Regions from separate parts of the Homo sapiens genome. Here regions 1, 2 and 4 are each linked to region 3. Evidence: promoter capture Hi-C in 16 types of primary human blood cells and fetal thymus (Javierre and others, 2016). All regions are on one chromosome and are shown on one strand. Each heading gives the region's core, a stretch centred on a gene start or on the middle of the fragment in contact. The rest is flanking DNA. Distances are from core to core; before and after follow the strand shown.

What was found. Contacts are between HindIII fragments. The CHiCAGO score rates a contact against its expected background, and 5 or more counts as called.
Region 1: a fragment that was not itself captured here is called in contact with the fragment with the promoter of HECTD1 in region 3 in 1 of 17 cell types (M0 macrophages); the score reaches 6.0 in M0 macrophages.
Region 2: a contact is called between a fragment that was not itself captured here and the fragment with the promoter of HECTD1 in region 3, in 1 of 17 cell types (fetal thymus). The highest score is 6.6, in fetal thymus.
Region 4: a contact is called between a fragment that was not itself captured here and the fragment with the promoter of HECTD1 in region 3, in 1 of 17 cell types (M0 macrophages). The highest score is 7.2, in M0 macrophages.

What each region holds. Positions count from the first base shown.
Region 1 is chr14:32,468,685-32,471,762 of GRCh38, forward strand. All of the region lies in intron 2 of AKAP6 (A-kinase anchoring protein 6), which reads left to right. Among named protein-coding and RNA genes, the nearest start is that of AKAP6, 140 kb to the left of the region's middle. The HindIII fragment of the contact is 1,147 bases long and covers 941-2,087 here.
Region 2 is chr14:32,210,868-32,214,177 of GRCh38, forward strand. No RefSeq gene overlaps it. Among named protein-coding and RNA genes, the nearest start is that of RNU6-8, 9.3 kb to the left of the region's middle. The HindIII fragment of the contact is 497 bases long and covers 1,531-2,027 here.
Region 3 is chr14:31,206,216-31,209,268 of GRCh38, forward strand. HECTD1 (HECT domain E3 ubiquitin protein ligase 1) reads right to left here and starts at 1,578. Exons shown (of 43, transcript NM_015382.4): 1 at 801-1,578. RefSeq lists enhancers at 470-983, 1,496-2,007, 1,985-2,154, 2,008-2,519 and silencers at 625-834, 955-1,164, 1,465-1,804. The HindIII fragment of the contact is 4,913 bases long and covers 52-3,053 here.
Region 4 is chr14:32,499,864-32,503,045 of GRCh38, forward strand. The region is part of intron 2 of AKAP6 (A-kinase anchoring protein 6); the gene reads left to right. Among named protein-coding and RNA genes, the nearest start is that of AKAP6, 170 kb to the left of the region's middle. The HindIII fragment of the contact is 2,256 bases long and covers 776-3,031 here.

The sequences.
Region 1 (3,078 bases), core at 264-2,763, 1.3 Mb after region 3:
CATCTTTGTCCCTCCATTCTTTCTCCCAGGTACTCCATATCCTTATGTTGTTTTCGTCTCATCAAAGCCCTGACAGAAACACAACCACTTCCAAAGACTTGCCATTCCTCAAATGTCCTGCGTTCTAATTGGACTTGCCCCCCTTTGCTCTAACAATCTTATTCCACCTTCATCAAAATTATTATTTCTAGGATACTGATTTTAGAGCATCTGTTTTAAGTGATTATTAATAATATATGAATAATAGGTAGGTTTAGTCCAAATTAATCTCTGCCTAGTGGAATGTGTGAAAAACTGTCCTAAACTCTACAGTAATGAATGCTATTGGAAGAGGTATTAACTAGGCATTCCACTAGAAAATTTGCTGATCCCTCGTCTGTTTTGTCATACCTCCCTGACTCATGGGGTGTACTGTGAGAACTGTTGCAACTCTGGGGAAGTGTTTTCCTGTCCTGCCACTAGACTTTGTGCCAGGAAATAATTTCTAGGCATTGCCTGGTAAAGTTCATCAACTTGCTTTGAAGAAGTCCTGTGAAAGCAATAGAGGGTTTTGTGTTGCTTTTCAACAGTCTCCAACGGAGGAGATTTTCACAACCTCCTTGGTATGCCAGTGTATAACAAACTATGATCACTAGCATTCCCCCAAGTAATTTAAGAAGAATTAAAAACAAGATAGGCACACAAAAGTTTATACATTTAAAAAAAGTTAGATTATTTGACATATTAAACTACCAGTAGATTCCTAGCGTTTCTTGGTAGTAGAAAACTTTTGAAAACATGTCCAATAATCTGTATAATAAAGTCAAGACAGTTTTGATCTTGATCTGTAAGAAAGTGTAATAATAACTAAATCATTATTTGAATGCTGACAAGAAAAGTACTTGCTGTACATTTACTGTTTACTTGTATTGTAGCACCACCTACTGTTGATAAAGAAACAAGCTTTTATAGCTTTCCCATTTTTCTTTGCCTCGCTAGTTAAAAGAATGTCTTTTTTTTTTTGAGATCTGATATTTTTAATGTCACAAATTTTTTTTTTTTATTATTATACTTGTCTTGGCTCGTCAGCCAGACATGCTGCTCGGAGATGTTTCTAAAGTTATGATACAGAGATTGCATTATGTCTGTTTCCAAAATGAAAGATTATGCCTTCAGTTACCTAAAGATCAGAACTGATGCTTGACATGCATATATGACATATTTTATCGCTTTTCAAATCAGATGTTTATCTTTTTATTTTCTAATAAAATAGGCTGTAGATGTTGGGAAATTACTGATTTGCTTTAAGTTCAGTTGCTCTTCCAATGAACAAATATTAAGTGGTAAAACATCAAGTCTTCTGAATATAATTACTAATATAAAATGATGTCATATTAGATCCAGGGTTAGCACTTACATACCATCACTCCCTTTCCTCCACCCTCAACAGAATCTTCATCACTAAAAAACCCACAAAACATCAACTAGGCTATTTGATATTTAGAGCTTTACTACTCAAAGTGTGGTCTGTGGACTGGACGCTTGGGCCACACCTGGGAACTGTTAGAAATGCAGGATTCTTGTCTCCCTGCATTTTAACAAGATCCCCAGGTGATTCAGATGCACATTAAGATTTGAGAAGCAATGTTTCAGGCATTTCTTGTATCCCACCCTACCCATCCCTGCCAGAAGACTGAACAGCAGTCAAACCAAGAGTAAGGTCTTTCATTACAAGTTTGAATTTACAGTATCTTATTCTCATAAAAAGTTAGATGATATTCTCTGACTCATGGCTTATTGAATGTAAATTGTATCACTGCTGTCGTTAGGGCTCACATCAGCAACTGAACAAAGAAGGCACAGTCCTTTCCCACTGGATCTGTCAGCTTCATCTCTGGGGAAAGTAATCAGGGAGCCATTTAAAGCAGCTGAGAGGAAAACTGCCAGCTCTGAAATTTTAGGGCATGCAAATGCCAACAAAATATTTAAGTTCGGTATGATAGAATCGTAGTTTGAACAGACAATAGAGGTAGGCTTAAATAATTCCTGACAATTGAAGTAGAAAGCAATACTTAGAGCTAGAATTATGAATAAATTGGAAAATTTAAAGCTTGATTTTTCTTAAGTCTAAATTTTCTTTTACCCATCTCTTTCTTCTATTTAAAAATCTAGTTAGTTTACTACAAGAGCAGTAACAGCCATTTGATTTTTGGTTAATGTTGAATTAGTTCATAAGTTTAACAAATGAATGTCATTCACAAATTTAGTTAATTTTCCTAAGACCTTTAATCCATCTAATAATCTCAAATACTTTAGATACATGAGGATAGACTTAGAAACCTAACTAGGCCAAATCTTTCAGTGAACTTAGGCCAGTTTTGAAAATGTAATAAACCAAATTTATAACTATGATAAACTAGGTTCTTTCATATTACAAAATTAATCAAATTCTTACCTTTATTAAAATCATGGCCGATATCCATTCAACATTTCAAATTAAAACTTCAAGGCAGTTTTGTATTTTGGATTCTTTAAAAACGTTTCAATAATTTTAAATAATAAACACCAAGATTGTCTCCATAATCATAAAATGTACTGCCAAAGTTAGCACTAAGTACCATGGGTTAGGCTTATGTCATTATCTCTGTATTTCTACATTTTCCTAGTGTTTCATAGTCACACAGCTAAAGATAGTAGAAGTCATCTGATCCATGACCAGTTCTGTAATGCGTTTATGGACGGTGGTAGTAATAAGAAATTGTGGACCAAAAGCAAGATCATAGTGCTACTTCCTAAACTGTGAATTAGCAGGCTGAACCTTTTAATAGTTTAAGTCTTTCTTGTCAGTGGGGGAATCCAAGTCCATGGCGAGAGCTGAGACTTAGTTTCATAGGCCATTGTCTTTTCTCCTAAGTGTATTATACATTTACTCAATTTTCATTGTAAACCCTTTCAACATTCTCTCACCCAATTTGGGTAGGTGGAATCCTGTACCCCCCACCAGGGCTATAGCTAATATCTTCATTGCACAGTTATTGTTCATTGAGACATGTACCTCCATCCATGGTATAAACTGTTTTTATTATCTGTCTCACCTCC
Region 2 (3,310 bases), core at 529-3,028, 1.0 Mb after region 3:
GCTAACTGCAAGCTCCGCCTCCCAGGTTCATGCCATTCTCCTGCCTCAGCCTCCCGAGTAGCTGGGACTAAAGGCGCCCACCACCACACCTGGCTAATTTTTTTGTATTTTTAGTAGAGACAGGGTTTCACCGTGTTAGCCAGGATGGTATTGATCTCCTGACCTCATGATCCGCCTGCCTCGGCCTCCCAAAGTGCTGGGATTACAGGCATGAGTCACCACGCCTGGCCTGTAATTAACTTTTTAATCTTAGCCACTTCTACTCTAGCTAGGTTTAACCTGAATCATTCTAGAACAGTGGGTCTGAGTGACACACACCCCTGGACTCCTATTATGAGCCTCCACTCACTTCTTCCCCTGGTGGCTGTTCAGGCCCTCCTACATGATCGCCTCTATGGGCCAGCCTCACTGCTTCTAGGAATGGCTCTGTATATTCCTGGGTTGTAAAGGTGGGTAGGAGTTAATTTCTCATGCTAGGACCCAAGGTGCATAAAGCCTTTACATTTCACATCTCTTTATTGACGCTGTGATTTCACTCCCCCCATCAACTCTGTTCATTCACACAGCTCATGAAGGTTTTTGTTTACCAAGAAGTCTAAGTTTCAATCTACCAAAAAAACTGAGGCTGCCCCTGTTGTCATATTTGATAGTGTTAATTGCAAGTAAAACACTTATTAATCAAATCTTCCTGTCCAATTATTTTTACAGAGTGAAAAAAATTTCTTTTTAATTAATTGTGTGTTTTGGGTGTCATGGAACGATATTTTGGTCTGATGGTCAGAATTCAAACCCCAGTCCCAGCCCTTGAACAACCCACATTCTCTTATGAAATGGGGATAATAACTACCCTGCTTGCCTTTTAGGGTTGACAGAAAGATCTGTGAGAAACGCTTGTGCCTTTACATTGCAAAGCATAGCAGGTGTGTAAATTGCTGTTGTTGCGGTGAGAAACTTTTCAGTTTTAAGGTTTGCGGTGATTGGAATTTTTTAAATTTATTTTTTATTTTAGTTTTTTTTTTTTTTTTTGAGATGGAGTCTCGCTCTGTCTCCAGGTTGGAGTGCAGTGGCACGATCTTGGCTCACTGCAACCTCCGCCTATTGGGTTCAAGCAATTCTCCTGCCTCACCCTTCCGAGTAGCTGGGACTACAGGCACATGCCACCACACCCAGCTAATTTTTGTATTTTTAGTAGAGATGGGGTTTTACCATGTTGGCCAGGATGGTCTCATCTCTTGACCTTGTGATCTGCCCACCTCGGCCTCCCAAAGTGCTGGGATGACAGGTGTGAGCCACCATGCCCGGCCGGATTTTTATAATTCATTAATTCAAAAACATTTGGGCATTTGCATCAGAGACCTTCACTACATCCTGAAGAGCACTTGCCTACAATTCTTAAGCTGAGGAATACAACCCAGTAGTCAGCTGTTATCTTGGAAATTATGACCAGTTAAAAACAACAACATTGGAAAGGAAACGGTGTAACTTTAAGGGAAAGCAAACTTAGGGCCAGTCACCTTCCCTGCCACCCAAAGCTTAGAATATTAGGTATTATCTGTTTAACATGTTTCTTAATTTTTTTAACACAAACGTTTTGTACATTTGGGTCCTGTTTATTAAATACATGATGAAAATGAGAGAGGTAAGATCTGCTGTCTCTTTGAGGAAATTAAGACTTAAATGTTTTACTACTTGTACCTACTATTAGCCAATTGATCTTTGTTATTGCCTAGAGTGAGTATCAGCAGGCTCAAACTGTATTCTTAGTCAGCTGTTAAGGTTCCAGTATAATCACCTAGTACTTCAGAATGGGGGGGGTGGGGCAAAACCCAACATTCAACTATCCAATGATGCTTCCACTAGAAACGTCCTCATTCTTGTGATGTATAATCCTGGTTCATGCTAAGTTTATAAACTTCTTGTTTTCTGTATCCCTCACTGGCTGCTCTATCCATAACCCATAACCCATAACCACTGAGACCCCCAGCCTTAGTGCTTGGATCCTGCTTCCACTTCAATAACCTTGGGTAAGCTTAGCCACTTGGGATTTGGTATACAGAGTGTGCATATGTGCATCTCTGGTTCAATAGGGGATACAGGCCAGTGTGCTCAGTATGTCCCTTCTGTGAACTCATATGATCCAGATTCCTGGGTCCCAGCACTGGGAACTGTGATTTAGTAGGTCTGGAGAGGAGCCCTGGAATCTGTATTTGAACAGGCACCCAGGGGATTCTGATGCAGGGCTCTGTGGGCTAGCTACCCTTTGTAAATCACTGTGTTCTCCAATTGTTGGCCTGGTTTTTAATCTTTCCTTTTTTTTTTTTTTTTTTTTTAATCTTACATTCCAGGAGCCTAAAACTAACTAACCTTCCACAAGTCAATACAGGTTTCTTTTCCCTGTCACCTTGCCTGGACCAAAGTTTTGAAAATGTAGTCATCTTCTTCCTCCTCTATTCTGCCTTCCTCCTTTCTTCTTGGGCCTCCTCCTCCTCTCTCATGGAGTTATTCACAAAGTCCAGTTGATTCCTCCTCTCCAGGCTTCATTCACATTACATCTCATTCTCTTGGAGCTCTAAGCCCCCACCCACACTGCCTCATACCTGAACTATCCAAAAGTCTTCTAGCTTTAAGGCTGGGCGTGGTGGCTCATGCCTGTGGATTCTAGCACTTTGGGAGGCCAAGGTGGGCAGATTGCTTGAGCTCAGGAGTTGGAGACCAGCCTGGGCAACATGGTGAAATCCCATCTTTACTAAAATACAAAAAATTAGCCAGGCCTGATGACGCACACCTGTATAATCCCACCTACTCAGGAGGCTGAGGCATAAGAATTGCTTGAACCCGGGAGGTGGGGGTTGCAGTGAATTGAGAATGTGCCACTGCACTCCAGCCTGGGTGACAGAGTGAGACTGTGTCTCAAAAAAAAAAAAAAAGAACCACCACCCAAAACAGAAGTCTTCTAGCTTCTCTCCTCTTCCTGTAATCCCTTTTGTGCATAATTGTCTGCCATTTGTACAAACACCATTTTCACCATGTCACTCATCTCTTTAAGAAACAGTAGTGATTCTCTGCCTTCCACATTAGAATTTTCTTTTCTATCAACTGCACTCCTCATTACTCCAAAATATTGCCTACAGTCCATTATTTACACACAATTTCTTTACTCTTGCCTTTGATGATATATTCTCAAAATATATTCATTAGAAATTTCAATGGTCACAGAACTTACTTTGGTAAAGGAGATTTTGCTACATTGACTACATTATTATAAATCCCTTCCCATAAGCAATGGCTAGAGTTGCTTATGGGAAGGGAA
Region 3 (3,053 bases), core at 328-2,827:
GTTGCTGCTTAACTAGAAACCAGAGCTGTCTGTGTCAAAGACAGTCAGTCAAGCTTCAGGTCCCACTACTGCTATCACTAAAGTCTATGCCAAAAGGCAAAGAACACCTAACTAAAGGTTCTGTTTTTTCCAGCAAACTTCATCCCCCTCCTTCTCTACCCAAAACTGATCTTCAGATAAGGGTTAGATTCAGTATTTTGAGGAAACTCTAAACACCTTGATCCAATCCCCCTCCAAATTGTTTCTCCTTCAAAATTACCTCCAATTTCACATATTCTGCTGACTTCTCAATTTACTTCTATTTTAAAGATATCCAAATACAAACGACAATTATATACAAGATTTATCTATGAATAAAGAGTTGGTTAGGAATTTTGGCAGTCTTGGCAACTATTCTTAAAAGTTAAAAAAATAAAAAAATTAAAAAAGGAAAGGCTAAAAGTAAATGCAATGGACCAGCAGGTTACGGATCCGAACGAATGTAGGCCAACCTAGGGCCCTCTTTCCCCAGCTTCACAAGATAGGGCAGTTGGTTAAAAAAACAAAAACAAAACCGAGAAGCAACCCCAACAGGTAAGTCATTACAAAAGCGCCCCGTAAGCGCCCTGACTGGAGGACAGCTTTGGGTCCCACGTAACGCAGCCGCAAGTGTGGGAAGCCGGCGGCGGGGCGCGGTGGGCACCCAACGGCGGCGACCAGCGGGGTTGACCCCACACCCGGGGCCCGGCCGAGCCGGGCGCTGAGAGGCGCTGGCCCCCGCGCTGTGGTTCCCCAGCACCAAACCCCGCTAAGTTAACTACCTGTGTCTACGAGGAAGGGAAGTTCTGGAGAAGCAGCAGCAAGCCTTCGTGCCCGAGAGGAGGCCGCCGGGCCAGGCAGGGCGCCGGCTCTCCCGGGAGCTGCGCCCGGAACTCGAAGGCCTGGCAGCGAACCCTTCTCAAGGGCAAAAGGAGCCGGCCTGAGGCTCTGGCGCGGGCAACCGGGCCCCGCCGCCGGCAGGGCCCCGGGAGGGGAACAAAGGGGCCAGCGGGGAAGTCGGCAGCAGCCTGGCCGACCTCACTCGGCGCCGGGGTCTCGCTTTCCGCCACTCGCCGGGCGTCCGGGATCCGCGCCCCCACGCAGGGCCCTTCCGACGGTCCGAGGCGCTCCCGCCTCCCCTTCCCGCAGGCTCTTACTCGGGCTTGTCGTTCCAAACCGCTCCGATCCAGCTCCCAACAGGCCGCCGGCAGAGCCAGGCCCGGCCGCGGCCCTAGAGTTCCCAAGAAGCCGCAGGCCGCGCAGGTCGAACCGGGCAGGCGGCACAGGAAAAGCCGCGCCTCGTCCCTCCCCTTCCTCCGCGAGGACCTGGTGACAGGGAAGCGAGAGGTTCTCGCGTGCGGCAGCAGCCAGCGGACGTCCAGTCCCCAGCACGCGGCTCCTCAGGCCCTGCAACTCAGAGGCCCGCGCGGTGCTGCGGGCGACGGCGGCGGCGGCGCGGCGGGGAGGCCCAGTCCATCGCGAACCGGGAGGGGGAGGGGAGGAGGGTCGAGGGAGAGCCAGGCGGGGAAGCTGCCGAGGGCAGCCGAGCCCGGCGGAGGCGGAGCAAATCCACTCCCCCGGCGGCGACCCCGCCGGCGGCCACCTGGGGCGCTGCGGGACGGCCGACCGCCGCGCAGGGGCGCCAAACCGGGTACGCCGCGTCGCCGTCCCTGCCCCGGAGCTCTCGCCCCCGCCGCCTCGGGCTGTGTCGTACGTTTCTGCCGCGGCTTTTCTATGGTGCGCCCTGGCCCCCTTTTCGCTTCCCTGTCAGTCCGAGCGCGCTCATGCACGCACGTCCAGCTTGCTTGGCGCCGTGGCTAACACTTTGCGCGCTCCTGCGGAGGGCGTCGCACGGCACAGCACAGCAAAGCTGCGGCCCAACCTGTCCCCGCTGAGCCTTCCGCCCAGGCCACCCGCACTCAGCCACGATCTTCCCTCCTCGCGCACGGAAGTGCGTCGCGTAAGGAAGGCGTCTCCCCCCGCTCCTGGGAGGCCGACCGCCTGGCGGTTCACCCCAAAGAAAACCCTTCAGAGCAACCCTGGGAAAGAGGTGCTGCCGACGATTATCAACGTTGTACAGATGAGACACTGAGGCTCCAGGAAAGCGCAAATGCAGGCCCAGCGCCGTGCCCGGTCGGCAGCAGCACTGAGAGTGCACTTTTGACTACGTTTCTTGTGGCTTGTGGTCACAAGTATGTCTGTGGTTATTCTTTTCAAACTTTATTTCACACGCATTCAGAATAAAGGATGCATGCTTATAGGACGTAGTTGGAGCCCGGAGACGTCCTACTGTACTCTCACTTTCAGCTTTTAAACAAAAAGAAAAATTAATACGACATGATAGTGTTTGAGACATGGTCCCTCAGGCAACCAGAGGAGCTGCTAGGTATGAGTAAAGAACAGAATTTGGGTCCGCTGCGTTTCCTGTAATCCCAGCACTTTATGATTTTACTCTCTTGAGGCCCGGAGTTCGAGACCAGCCTGAGCAACATAGACCTGGTCTCTGCAAAAAAATTAAAATTTAAAAAATAATTACCCAGATGCGGTGACGCACACCTATGGTCCCAGCTACTGGAGCGGTTGAGATGGGATGATCCCTCGAGCCCAAGAAATTGAGGCTGCAGTGAGCTTTGATAATGCCACCTCACTCCAGCCTGGGCGACTAAGCAAATTTGTCATTTCCAAAATACTGGTTCTTTTTTTTCTTTCTTTTTTACTACTTCTTTAGAAAAAGAACCAGTATTTTGGAAATGACAAATTTGTACTTCAGATAGCTATCCGCGCATGTCCCGTTGTCGCAGGTAATGGTCCGTTTAGGTATCCTGTTAACGAAACAAGAGGAAAAAGAGGATTCAACTATTTTGTCCCAAGTACAACACATGAGGATAATTATTTAGATGTCATGAGTGTGAATTGGAGCTGCCAGGAAACTTCAAGAAGGAAGTGGCATTCCCTCTGGACCTTGAAGAATGGGTACAATGTAGACACTGAAAGGAAAGGGAAGAACATAAAGCCTGATATGTTCCTAGACATAG
Region 4 (3,182 bases), core at 654-3,153, 1.3 Mb after region 3:
GATGAATACTCATTCATACCAAAGACCTATTATTAGGAATAGAACTTGTTAAATATGTACATATGTACCTGATTAAAAAAACTAAAGCTTTGCAGTAAGAATTTGTATTTGTATGTACCAAAACAATATATCTATATTTAGCTCTTATCTATAAAAATCTAATTGTAATTGATATGTCTAAGAAACACCCAAAACTCAGATTTTGATTCTTTTTTCCAGGATCTTTGTACTTTATCCAGTTAGACTAGGTCTTTACTTTCAAGAAAAGAGAGACGAGAAGAGGGAAGGAAAACTCACTTAACATGTTTCATCAGCATGATCCATGAAGTTATCAGCAGGAAATATAAACAGATTATTTTAAGCAATGATCTTGCTAACAAAATACTTGAATGTGCTTTGTAGAGAAGTAGTTACCCACACATAACCCATGACCTGTTCATTTGGCAGATTGCCATGAAGTATTTACTTGATAAGATTATTTATTGACATCTAGCTTAAAATGAATATTGCATTATGTCTGAATGTGATTCTTATTACAAGGACAGAGGGATAATACAATAGTGAACCAATGATCACTTCCTATACTTCTGTCACTCTGTGACGCTGAGCATACTTCCCCAGAGTCCCTGGTTGGAAGGAGGGCACACTTACTATATGGGATGCATAGGTGCCAATGGTTGAAGTTGTGTTCATGCAGCATATCTACCCAGAATTGGTATGGTGTTGCCAGTGTAGGTGCTAATACTACTTAGAATGGTGAAGATTTGAGTACAGAAGCTTCCCTGAGAAGTTCTGTACTTTAGTCTTAATTACCATATATGGGGAAAAGTCTGTATCAAAAGGGCTGTGTATTCTTGACTGATCTTTGTGTCTCCCAACCTTTTCTCTTTTTCTTTGCTAGTTATGCCAGATGTTTCTAGTGTCTACAGGTATGATGGTCATAGTCACCACCATATCATAAGATACCTTCCCCCATTCCCTTTATCCTGACTTGGTATAAACAAGTTCCTTTTTCCTTTACCTTAACTGGGGCAGGTATGTATACAGGGAACCTTCAAATGGACTCTTAAAGAACAAAGGTCAAGCCCTGAAGTTTCCCATTGCAAGTGCATTCTAGCCTGTGGCACACCAAAGTATTTGGAAAGCTCTGCTCTATCAGTTATTCAAGGACTGAGGTTCCTTCCCTCCTAAGCAACCCTGTCCAATAAAAATACAGTAGAAGCCACAAATGAATCATACTTGCGATTTTTAAATTTTCTAAATCAAGAAAGTAAAAACACAATAAATTTTAATATCTCTTATTTAACCCAATTTGTCCAAAATATTGTTTTAACATGTAATTAATATAAAATTATTAATAAACAATTTCAAATTCTTTTTTGCACACAAAGTTTTTGAAATCCAGTGTGTATCTTATACTTAGAATACATCTCAATTTGGACTAGCAAAAACATTTCAAGTGCTACCACATTGGACAGTACAGATCTAGAGGTTCATTTTTCTAGGACCTCAGAATCCTCGATCTTCAGAATCCAGTCAGCAGACAAGGAAAAGAGAGTACATAAAATATCTCAAAGGAAGTTTTAAGGATTCAACCTGGCACCAAAGTATATCACTTCTACCCACGTTCCATTGGCCAGTATTTAGTCCATATGACCTGATCTAACTAACTGCCCAGGGCACCTGGAAAATGTCATTTAGCTGTGTGCCCAGGAGGAAAAAAAAATAGGTTTGGCGAGTACAGAGTAGAGTCTTTACCACAGCATAAGGTATTATTATTACCATATTTTACAGATCAGGAAATTGATGCCCAGGCAGATTAACTGACACTCTTGTTAATGAGAAAATGTAAGTAGATGCGAGGTCTTCACTCTCTGGAGTGATATTTCTTCCATCAGACTGCCCTTCTTTCTTTCCTTTATTTGTCCTTCAACCTCCCCTTTAACTCTGTGCATGTAGATGCAGCTCTTGCAGTAAACCTATGTCTTCAATATTTTATCACATTGGCTCTCCTAGGCTGTACTCTGACTTAATGACAGTATCCTATTACTTCTGTTTTAGAAAATGATAAGCGCCCAGTATAATGAAGCAAATATGCCTTATTACTGGATCGTTTAACTAATAGTACTATTTTCAGCATTGCATTATCATTTTGAGTGGGCCTTTTCCTTCCTCATACTGAAGCTCCTCATTCAAAGCAAAAGATTGTTAAGGTCCTCATCAAGCCATTTCAATCAATGTATAAATTGTATTTTATGTTATAATGAACAGTCTGTTCAATTGAAGTTTTTAGCTTTTTAAAAGTGCTTAGAAGAATAGTAACAGAAGTGCTCTTAATGGTGAAATTATTGAACTGAAGTGCTTGGATAAGCTGTTTTATTTCTTAAATGAAAGGAGATATTTTAGATGGAGAAATGAGATAAATATTCCTCAAAGGAGACTGGTGGTAAAGAGTGACTGCTCTCCATGGATTACTGATTATAACACAAGTGTCCATCAAGAGCAGCTTTTATTGAAGACAGTTTAATTGGACCACTGCCCTTTAGCTTTAAATTACCCACGGCAAACTGGTTTAGAGTTTTTGTTGCTGTCTGTCTTATATTTGTGAATATGAAATACATTTACAGAGCCAAAAATTTAAAAATATGAAAAGATATACAGTGAAAACGCCACCTTTTATACTCCAATGCAGAGAGCTGGCCTTTCTAACAGTTTCTCCCTTTTGTAACCCAACTTTGTAGGTACTCATTCTTCTCTTCTTGCATATTCTTCTAGAATTTGTATATGCATTTATAAGCAAATGTGAATATATATTCTTAGTTTTCCTCCTGTTTTATCCTATACATACTGTTCTGCACCTTGCTTTTTAAACTTTATACACCATGAAGATCTTTCTGCGTCAGAATATAAAGTCTTCTTATTATCCTCATTCTTATAGTTGTGTAGTGCTCTACTGAATAAATGTACCATACTGATGAACATTTAGTCTGTTTCCAATCTTTGGATATTACAAACTGTATTGCAATAAATAAGCTTGAACATAAGTCATTTCACAAAAAATGTAAACATATTGCATACATAAATTCTCAGAAGTAGAATTGCTAGTCAATATATATAGTATATGCATTTGGAATTTAATAGAAATGGCCAAACTGCTTTCCACAGTGGTTGCACTAATTTAC